3 separate regions of the Homo sapiens genome follow, and all the other regions are linked to region 2. Evidence: promoter capture Hi-C in human tissues and cell types (Jung and others, 2019). All regions are on one chromosome and are shown on one strand. The core of a region is centred on a gene start or on the middle of the fragment in contact, and the rest is flanking DNA. Distances in the headings are between cores, read along the strand shown.

Region 1 (3,516 bases), core at 926-3,425, 1.1 Mb before region 2:
AAGAGTGATAAAAAACTTCAGTTTCTCTATTATCTGTATATTCCATCACTTAATTGCAAAAATTAATGATTTGCAAATGCCTAATCATTAGTGTCAAACCAATCTGTTACTGAAGTTCTAATATAGTTTCACTTCAGTTGAGTCAGACAAATTTGACTGCTTAGTGATCAAATTACTACAAAAACGGTCTAGTCAGAAACCTCTCGGACAGTCCTCTCTCCCTGGTATGGAGAGGGAGGCAGGATAGGGTAGTAAGATGTAGTAGTACCTGCACACAGAGGCTTTTAAAACATGGTGTTTACTCTCTGGAATCCAAAAAATGAAAAAAATGCAAACTGTAATACCAGCCAGGAAGACAGTGTCACTTAGAATTTTCCAGGAACATAATTATGGTCTGAGACTAATGACCTTATCTTCATCTATGCAGGCATTACGTCCTAGATAGAATCTGCAGGTCTCCTATAATTATAACATCACACACACACACGCTTTTCTAAAATCCACAGTGTGCTCTGAGGTCCAATTCCAAAAATAAATGGTCAATAAAAACAAATACTCAGGCCAATGATATAAACCTATCTCTTCTGTGCTTATATGCCCATTAAAAAATAACAGTGCAAATGTAATAATCCATGAATAGCCTTTGACCATAACAAGGCTATCACAAAAAAGGCAACATTTCAAAATCAACTTAAAAATCACTTATTACACTGTTAGAGAATAATTTCTGCCATTAAAAAAGAAAGATAAGCACCAGAGGCTTCAAAACACAGACCTTCTTAGATTTGAAGACACGACTTAATGTGTTATTCATTCCAAAAAACGTGGTCATTCATCTCAAAGAGGCCATATTTTTAAAAGAACTGCATTTGCCATCCTTCCAGATCTGGTTATCAAACTCATGCAAAATACAGTACCTGCTTTTATGAGAGAAGCTGTAATGTGTACCGCGCAATGCCACCCCAGGACACAGAAATACTATACGCATCAGTCATCCCCCTAGATTTTTGGCATGCATTCTCCAGGAAAGAGAAAAAGTTTTTACTTCATCTCCCTAAGGTTCAAAGAAATTTACTAAAATTTTTGATAAGCAGTTTTCATTTTTTCCTTCTACTACCACCATATTTAATGGTCTCATTGCAGACGGACGTGGGTTGAGTAGTTTCCTGGGCTCCTGCAGGGAGTTCCTTACCATCAGTCGCCGCATTCTCTCCTTTTCAATCCGCTCTGTCTCCTTCTTCTGCTCTCTTTCAGTGTTGGCATGCCAAGTTGCCACTGCTTTGGAGAGCTTCTGGATCTTTCCGGCCACAGACCGATGATATTCCTTAAAATCTTTTGCATGTTGCAAAATACTGTTCAGGTATTCCTAGAAGATCCAAAAAGGGAAGAAAAGGATACTTAAAATCCAATGACCAGTGTCCTCTGAGCTATCAGTGTTGTCCAAGAAAACTCTCAGTGTGTGTTTAACAGCATAGGAAGACTAGAATCTGTTTGGGGATAGGTGCCCTGGTGTCTCTGCAGTTAAGGTGTGGGCCATGGGGCTGGTGGGAAAGATAGCCTCTTCGGGTTCCTTTTGTTGTAAGCTTTAGCAAGAGAAGCCTCCTTAGCCTTGAGGGTGTGGCCACATGAGAATGGAAAGATCGAAGACTGAAAGAGACCTACAAAATGGCAATGATAAAATGTAAAGCAAACCACTCATTCACTCCAAAATAAACCTGAGGAACATGAGTATTTCCAGCAAAAAGTATGTCACAAAAGTAATGTTTTTCTGCTCTAACTACCCTAGAGTATGACACAAAATAAGTTTATACAAAGTTAAAATTGCCATGCAGAATTTGTATCCACTTTTTAAATATATACTCTATTTACACTAAAATCCAACATTTTTTCAAAAGGAAACTAAGCTAAGCACTAAATTAAGCACAGGAAAACAAATACAATTTACAGGACTATGACAGGAAATCAAATCCTACATCAAAATATTTCCAAACCCCCAGAAAGGAATGTTTTTAATATTTGCCTCTGTGAAACATTCAACTAGGCCCTTCAGAGAAGCCAGGACACTATTATATTTGTTATGAAAATAACTTTTTGCTTTCTACTTTCCTTTTCCAAGTTCCTGCTCCCAGAATTTTGCTCTAGGAAATCCACCTATGCCCACCCATTCAAAAACTTCCCATGGGATTATGAACATGACACCTGTTATGGACTGAATGTTTGTGTCCTCCCAAAATTTATATATTGAAATGCTAACTCCCAATGTAATGGTATTAGGAGGTGGGGTCTTCGGGAGGTGATAAGGTCATGAGGGTAGAGCCCTTACGAATGGGATTAGTGCCCTTATAAAGGAAGCCCGGAGAGCTTTCTTGGCCTGCTTCCACCACGTAAGAAAACAAGGAGAAGTTAACAGTTTGCAACCCAGAAGAAGACCCTCACCAGAGCCCAGCCATGCTAGTACCCTGATCTCAGGCTTCCAGCCTCCAGAACGGTGAAAAATAAACTTCTGTTGCTCATCAACCACCCAGTTTGTGCTATTTTTTTATAGCAGCCCAGACAAACTAAGACAATACTAAACCTCATTGTGCTGCTAAGCAATTGTATGACCTTGGGCAGTCATTTATACGTCCTGGCTTAAGCGTCTTTGTCTATAAAATGATGTGGTTGGATTATGTACATGTCAAGGAACCGTTCTGTTCTGTGATGTCCCCACCACCCACAAGGGTCCATTTTTCAGTCATTCTGACCCCATTTGATGAATTCATTGGACAGCTCTGCCAAAGTGAGGGTGAGCAAAGCCCAGGGTCTAAGAACCTGGTGTTTCTGACGGCGTTTCCTCTCCTGCTCAATCTTCTGCTGCTTCTCCAGCTTCTCGGTCATGCGAGCTTCTCTCAGAGTCTGGCGCTTGCTCCGTTTGTATGCTTTGGAGTTGAGAGCCGTCTCCAGGGTCGTGTCCCTGCGCATGCAGGCCACCACCTCCTGTCTCAGCTGTCAAGAAGAGAGCAGTTAGACAGCCTTCCCTAACAGAAGCTAGGTTCCTGAACTCTGGCCTTCTCGCGGTTGCATTTAATGGAATAGAGTGGGGCGGGGAATCTCCACAAGCTTCTCAATCACCTTTGGTTTGTATTAAATGAAGGAACTAAAATCATGCCAAATGTATGCAATATTTTCAAGAACGGTACAAGATTTTTCTCCCCAAATAATTCAAATCAAAAGCAATTATAGTACTGTAACAGTAAAAGAAAGAAAAGATGTTGTCTTGCCTTTTAAATAACTTCATTTTCTCTAATTATTCTAATGATACCAATTAGCTAAATAAGCTTTTTAAATTTTCCGCTTTGTTTTAAGTGTCATGTTAACATTCTCTTTGTGTTTAAAGATTAATTTTAATGATGCTCCAAAAAAAGAATAAAAGAATTACTTTCACGTGTGGTAGCAGCAGGTACTCAAACAACGTTAATTCATAGTCTCATACAAAGGATGGGAAATATGAGTTTTGGCTTCTTCCCACTCCAATAA
Region 2 (3,774 bases), core at 561-3,060:
TGCCCCCTTCCGGGAGAAGGTGGGCTGTGTTCCTTTGCACATTTGCCCCAGTTAAGGAGAAACACCAAACACATATCCACTGAATTCCAAGAGCCATCAAAAGAGCTCTTGAGCTGGGCAGAACCGCAAGCTAGAAATTCCCCAGGAAGAGAGAGACTAAGAGACTCAACTCAGGCCTGCCAAGCTCAGGAGGCCTGGATGGAAACGGATGGGTGGTGGGGGATCAGATTTTTTGTATTCCTTTAAACCACGAAGACAGCTGAGGGCAGCCTGGGGAACAGTGTTAAAGGATCTAGGAGGTTCTGCAAAGGAGTGAATTCTGGGCGCATCAGATTCTTTTCCCGCTATCAGCTCACAAGCCTTTCCGGACCCTTTTACTATCATTGCTAAATGGAACTTATTTCACCAGTTACAAGAGTCTGGAGGCCACGGAGCAAAGCTAGAAAGGCCAGGGTTCTGAGAGTTGGATACTTGTCCTCACTCAAATTTTCCTGGGCCCTGGGCAGGGCCGGGCCGGCCGAGAAGCACAGCCAGCTCGACTCAGCCGAGTGTTGGCCTTGGCTCCTTCCCTACACCTACCTACCCATTCCAACCCCCAAATGGCAAGGACCTCTAAAGCCTGCAGCCAGGAAAATCCGACCCCACCGTAGTGAGTGTGCGCACGTGGGTTTTAATTTTGTCCTGTCTCAACTCCGTTGTCTCCCTGCTCAATCTGACACGTTCCGAACCCTTCAACCTGGGAAGGCACCTGGCGATACTGACGCACAGTCCCGTCGTTTGGCTGCCCGGAGGCGCCTTCCCTGCGGGCGCGAGTGCCACTCGCGCTGGGTCCAGACTCAGCCGGCTTCTCCCGGGAGAGGAAGCCCCGGCCTGGCGGAGAGTAGGAAGGAAAGCCCCGACAGGCCCACGTCCCAAAACTTTGCCTCCAGTCCTCCCAAGTGGAGCTGCAGCTGGCACTCCGAAGTTGCCCCCGCGCCCGGCCAAACTCCCGCACCTCAGACGCTCTTACCTGGCTTGGCGAGCTGCGCCTGCAGAGCCCCGGGCTGCGGCTCGGCAGTCCAACGCAGCGCGGCGGCCGCGGCCAACTCGGCAGCAGGGCGCGGCGGCTGCGGCTGCGACGGCTGAGAGGCTGGCGGCGGCTGCGGGGCGGCGACGGCGTCCCCCGGCGGCGGGGGCCCTGGCAGAGCGCGCAGCGAGTCGGGGATGAGGCTCTCCAAGCTCTCGTTGGCCTGCTGCCGGCGCAGCGCCACCTGCGCAGCCATGACCCGCTGCCGCTCGATGATGAGGATGCACTTCTCGCAGGTGCAGTCCTTGAAGCGGCAGTAACGCTTGTGGCCCTTGAGCCAGGACAGGACGCCATGGTTGCGGCAGCGCGCGCACTTGGGCGTGCGCTGCAGGGGCGCCCGTGGCGGCTGCGACACCGGGCCGCCCATGTACAGGTAGGGGGAGCCGTAGCCGTTCATGCCCCGGGCTCCCGAATGAGTTGGCAGCCTGGCTGCGGGAGAGGGCCAGGGAGCGCTGGACGGCGGGGCTGCGAGGCCCGCTCAGGGGCGGCCTCCGGGCGACGCGGCCCTTGGTCCCGCAGCCCCGGTGGTCGTGTGTGCTCCGGGGCGGCCGGAGGTGCCGCAGTCGTCTCTCCAGCTCCCTTCGCGCTCACAGCTCGGCCTCCCAGCTCACGCCCAGCCAACGCCGACGCGGGCCTCTGCCTTGGGCGCGCAGCCGGGTCGGCACGTCCTCCTTCGCGGAGGCGCTGCGGCGGCTGCAAGGAGCCGGCGACAGCTCTGATTAAGGTCTGAGCCAGCTCTTCTGCAGCTCCCTCGTGAGCCGGCCGGACCCAACACCTCCGCCGCCCTCCCCCAACCCCTCCTCCTTCCCACCGCCACCCCCGCCCCTGGGGTCCCTGTCTCCTTGCACTCCCCGCCCCACGCCTTCCTCCTCCTTTGCGCCCCTCGGGTGCCTGCACTTCACCTTCCTTGCCACCTGCAGCCAGGCCACTCTCGCGGGGGCGCTCGCGGCCCCCTCCTCCAAGCCCTCTCCGCTACCCCAGCCCGCGGCTGGAGACTGCGGCGCTCCAGAACGCGGCGGTGCTCGCGGGGCGGAGAAGGGGAGGACCAGCGGGAGTGAGGGTGGGGGTGCCTGTAAGCGAGTGAGGTGGCCGCTCCGCTTCTCTCTCTTCTCCTCCCTCCAGTCCAGATCTGGCCGCGTTTTTCCGAGCCCAAGGCCGCTTTTATCCCGACATTTGGCCGCAGAAGCTCAGCTCCGGGAGAACTCGAACCTACGGGAGTGTTGCGGTTGCACCCCGGACCTGGGTGGAGTTTAGGATAGGGGAGTGAAGTGATGTTGGTTTAGGAAAGTTAGGCTCTTTTCGTAATTTCCTTTTAGAACGTATTTTTTTCTCTTTTGTTGCTTTAGAAGAAAATGGTTTTGGAGATCTGCCGGCCCAAGGATGACAAGCCATTTTGCAGGCGAATTTTACTTTTCTACCCTCCTGTCCATGTTTTAATATAAAACAGTATCCTGAAAGGTCAGGGACGTACGTGCTCCTGTAAAGGATTTGTTAAGCGCCGGGTATAAACTTTCAAGGGGCAGACACAGAAGCCACATTGGCGCCCCCAAAGTTACCGATATCCTCTTCCCTCGCTCCCAGCAGCTACTGGAAGCAAACGGAGGTCTTGCGCCAGCCACTCAGTTCAAATCCCCACGGATTCTGTGATTCAGTTATGGATATGGGATGGGGCCACTTTTTCACCTCCTTAACCCATAGACCCCAGTCATAGATGTCTTGGGGGAGAGGGTCCTTCACAAGATGACAGCAGAAAACTTTGTTTAGATTATTTGCGTGTTCCCATTCTCCCAGGAGTAGCGGGCTTGGCCTAGTGCAGACTATCGCTATATATGCACAAAGAAGGCCCTCCACCCTCGCACCTCCCCACTGCCCATCAGCAAACAAGCAAAAACCAAAAAACAAACAAACAAACAAAACAAGTGGATACACTGCAGGGCAGCACAATAGCTCTATGCGAAGCGGGGCAGTTCCAGAGCCTTCGGTGGATGCGCTTCTGAGAGCGTGCACCAAGCCCATCTCCTGGTGGGGAATCAAATGCTAGATGAGAGCGTAGGCAAGTCCGCTGCAATGTCCGACCCCTCATGGGCACAGAGGCCCTTGTCCCCTCGGGGAGGCCGCTTTTCTCTGTACTGCCCTGGAAGTAAGCAAGCAACCTGAAAACTTTCCTCTGGTGTTTGCCATGAATTCAAGGGAAGCACCTCCAGGCGTTCTAGCAGCCAACCCTCTGCCCAGAAGGCTGATTTGCGGAGAGGAGGGTTGAAAACCGAACCCCAGTTGTGTGTTTCCCTTGAAGCCCTTAGCTGTTCCCGTTTCATACGCGTCCGGGAGGTGGGGATCGCGGGACACTGACCTGGTAGAGTGTGGACAAGAAGCTCTAGCATTCGAGTGCTAACCCTGGGAGGCCATCCTCCAAAGCCGCGTGGGGTAGGGACCCCTCGGTCTTGCCCCTTCCCCCACCACTTTAATCCTTCCTCTAGTCTCAACCTTCTCTAGGAAAACAAGCCCTAAAATACAACTGGAAGGAATTTTGTAAGCTCTGGGGACGGGAGGCAGAGGTCGCCCCCAGCCCTGTAGGCCCGAGGCTAGGAAATGGGGAGCTGGACGCGAGTCATTTAACGTGCTGCGATATAGAGGGCCTCAAATGACACCTTAACTGAAAACTATTGCGCTGAAACCTCCGGATCTCTTGGAAACGTGGGGACCAACGA
Region 3 (3,419 bases), core at 82-2,581, 1.0 Mb before region 2:
GCATGTTCAATAAATTATGTTTTTCACAATCATTCCCCCAAAATACCACCCCCAATTCTCTTTATGATTATATCGTTCTTTAGCTTAAAATCCTTTGTCTATTCCCAATCCATTTTACGGTAAGTTTCAAACTTCTTGGCATGTTATCCTAGGCTGTGCATAGACAGGTCTCTACCAGCGTTGTTGACCCTGCCGCCAAAAATGCCTGGGCTCAGGGAAAACCTGTCTACCGTTTGGTTCCTAAGTGACCACATTGGACATTCTCCCCTCTGACTGAAGTGCAGATCCTCAACCCACATCCTCAAAACTCAACTATGACCCAGAATCCTTCTAGTGGTCTTCCCTGTTCTCCCCAGGCAGAGGAAGCTGCTTGTCCTACTCTGCTCCCATAGCAACCGGTGTGCGCCTCCATTATAGCACTTATCACTTTGATGCAATTATTTGTTTGGTGTTGTCCTCTAGATGGTTAGTGCCTGGAGGGTGTTTCGATTCATCTTTGAAACCTCAGCAATTACCCTGATACCTAGCACATTGTATTTAAAAAAAGAAAAGAAAAAAAAACTTTGTTGAAGGAAAGGATGAGAGATAGATAATAAAATTACCTGACATAGAAAATTTAGCCGGTCTTCACTATTAGTAATTATCATGTTAATGAACAACATCAGTAAGTGTTCCGAATCTTTACAGTATCTGCCAAGGCTTGAAAACGCTTGGAAAATGTGTTTGGTTTTTGTTTGGTTTTGTTTTGTTTTGTTTTGGGGAGGGGGGATGTGGGAAGATGAGGAGAAGCTACAGCTCTTGTAGTCATAGAAAGAGCACCGACAAGAGGTTTTGTTTGTTTTTAAATTAGGCTAGGAGTAACATGAATGCATACATGGCAATTGTTTAATACAGTAGTCACAATTATAATTGCAGCTCCTTTTTATTTCTCTTTTAAATTACATGCCTGAAGTTGTACAGAGACTTGTACATATGTTGTTTAATCCATTTAACCCTACGAGATCTATGACTTCATCTCCATTTTACAGGTGAGGAAACTGAGAATCAGGAAGTAATTTGCCTAAGGCAGGGATCTCCAAAGCGGAGTGACCAAGACAATTTACTGTGAAATAGGAAGAACAGAAGAAAATCTGTTTCTTTTTTCTTTAATAATTGAAAAAAGTAATGATGCAAGGACAAAAAAGAGCTTTATGTATATTTATTATACTCATTGACCCTTGACCCTAGAGTGTTTTACATGGTCCCTAAGTAAACTGGTCATGTGTCATGTAGTGTAGCTGAAGAGTACTGAAAAACAAAAAGCGCCACAGGCAGAGGGGTGATACTGGCACCTTCTGGTTCTTTCATTGTCATTGACATCTTTTTAAGCATTGATATTGCCTTAATTTTACAGGTTCCACGTTAAATAAATTCTTAAGATTATATCATCTAGTTTTTTTTTTTGTTTGTCTTTGTTTTTGTTTTTGTTTTTTGAGACAGATCTCGCTCTGTTGCCCAGGCTGGAGTGCAGTGGCTTGATCTCTGCTCACTGCAAGCTCCGCCTCCCGGGTTCACGCCATTCTCCCGCCTCAGCCTCCCGAGTACCTGGGACTACAGGCGCCCGCCACCACGCCCGGCTAATTTTTTGTATTTTTAGTAGAGACGGGGTTTCACCGTGTTAGCCAGGTTGGTCTCGATCTCCTGACCTCGTGATCCGCCCACCTCAGCCTCTCAAAGTGCTGGGATTACAGGCGTGAGCCACCGTGCCCGGCCTATATCAATCAACTCTCTTATTTGGGGAGCACGTGGCTTAAAAAACAATTTCTGTGAGGAAATAGAAAATTGAGATAATACCAATAATATAAGCACAGGTGAAAATCAGGATCAAATTTGCCAGTTTAACCTCTGAGAACTCTTTTCCAGCCAAATTGAGGACTAAAACAATGACAGCCTAATGAGATCTAACAAGAAATAGGTCAGGCCGGGCGCTGTGGCTCACGCCTGTAATCCCAGCACTTTGGGAGGCCGAGGCGGGCGGATTACCTGAGGTAAGGAGTTCGAGATCAGCCTGGGCAATACGGTGAAACCCTGTCTCTACCAAAAATACAAAATCAGCCGGGCGTGGTGACACACGTCTGTAATTCCAGCTACTCGGGAGGCTGAGGCAGGAGAATCGCTTGAGCCTGAGAGGCAGAGGATGCGGTGAGCCAAGATCACGCCATTGCACTCCAGCCTGGGCAACAAGAGTAAATCTCCATCTCCCCCCAAAAAAAAAGAAGAGAAAAAAAAGAAATAGGTCAAAAACATTCATAATTTTCCAGGACTATTTGAAATTTGGATTTATATTAACTTTCATAAATGATTAATTCTGTTCTAAGCATGTATGTTTCCTTGAGATACTATTGATTGTATGATAGCATGCTTAGCAAGATAATTGAAAATTTTCTATTCATCTTATTCTTTTACAATTTTTATTTTGTGTATGTTTTATAATGCACATAATATATTAATAATGAATACATGTGTTATGAGTAAATATACATAAATCATGCTCTATCTTTTTTTTTTTTTTTTTTTTTTTTTTTTTTGCTTTTTAACTGTAAGGGGTATGTGATTAAACAACTTGGAGATGACTAAATGATGAAGTCAGAATTTTTAACTAAGCTTGGTAGAACTCCACACTCAAGAGTAATCTGTGTTGCTCATGTAAAAACTGCCCCAAAATTTGTCATCAGTACAGGGTTCTTAATCCGTGATGGAGGGTTGATGGGGGTGGAATACAAATGATCTTTGGAACATCTAAGAATCCCCTGAAACTGTGTTCAAAATCCTAGGATCGTGTTAATGTATGCTTTCTGCAGACAGAGTCTGTACATTTCATCAGATTCTCAAGGGGATCTTCCCGGAAAGGGGTAAGAGTCATTGACCCAGAGGTATCAGCAGCCTCAATAACCTAGGATAATTTTCTGGTAAGAAATTAATCCTCTCCATAACTTTTATAAAACTAAGTGTGCACATTTTGTATATCCAAACATATCTACCCTTTAAAATCCTAATTCAGTGTTTCTTTAGGTAAACCAAATGCATTCTAACTGCCCAAAGAAGGACTCCATTTATCTCCAGAGATGGGCTTTCTGAGGATAAGTTTATTCTAAAGCATTTCCTCAATAATACTGCATTATATATTGTTGACTAGACTAGAAAGAATTTTTTGTGTTGTCATCAATATATCTTTGAGGTTTTGACACATCTTTGGGCAGTTGTACATGAGGAATCAGAACATGAATTCAGGTTCTCAAATTTTCTGTCGTAAATTGTTCAGATATTTTCACTTTTGTTTGGCCATTGTACCTGCTACCCTTTGTTCTGTGCTGTGCTTCTCTGATTGATAATGTGCTTCGGTACCAATGTAACACTGTAGCTTACCTCTAAGCCCCTCA

The links. Contacts are between HindIII fragments. The study calls those that stand out against the background at their distance.
Region 1: a contact is called between a fragment that was not itself captured here and the fragment with the promoter of DMRT3 in region 2, in 1 of the 25 tissues and cell types used here (dorsolateral prefrontal cortex).
Region 3: a fragment that was not itself captured here is called in contact with the fragment with the promoter of DMRT3 in region 2 in 2 of the 25 tissues and cell types used here (mesendoderm cells and thymus).

The regions. Positions count from the first base shown.
Region 1 is chr9:2,056,141-2,059,656 of GRCh38, reverse strand. It overlaps SMARCA2 (SWI/SNF related BAF chromatin remodeling complex subunit ATPase 2), which reads right to left. Exons shown (of 34, transcript NM_003070.5): 7 at 2,812-2,985; 8 at 1,193-1,366. Among named protein-coding and RNA genes, the nearest start is that of SMARCA2, 43 kb to the right of the region's middle. The HindIII fragment of the contact is 4,755 bases long and covers 1-3,516 here.
Region 2 is chr9:974,691-978,464 of GRCh38, reverse strand. It overlaps DMRT3 (doublesex and mab-3 related transcription factor 3), which reads right to left and starts at 1,810. Exons shown (of 2, transcript NM_021240.4): 1 at 1,010-1,810. The coding sequence starts at 1,463. RefSeq lists enhancers at 1,643-2,142, 2,143-2,644, 3,177-3,774. The HindIII fragment of the contact is 20,406 bases long and covers 1-3,774 here.
Region 3 is chr9:2,008,340-2,011,758 of GRCh38, reverse strand. No RefSeq gene overlaps it. Among named protein-coding and RNA genes, the nearest start is that of SMARCA2, 5.3 kb to the left of the region's middle. The HindIII fragment of the contact is 5,967 bases long and covers 1-3,419 here.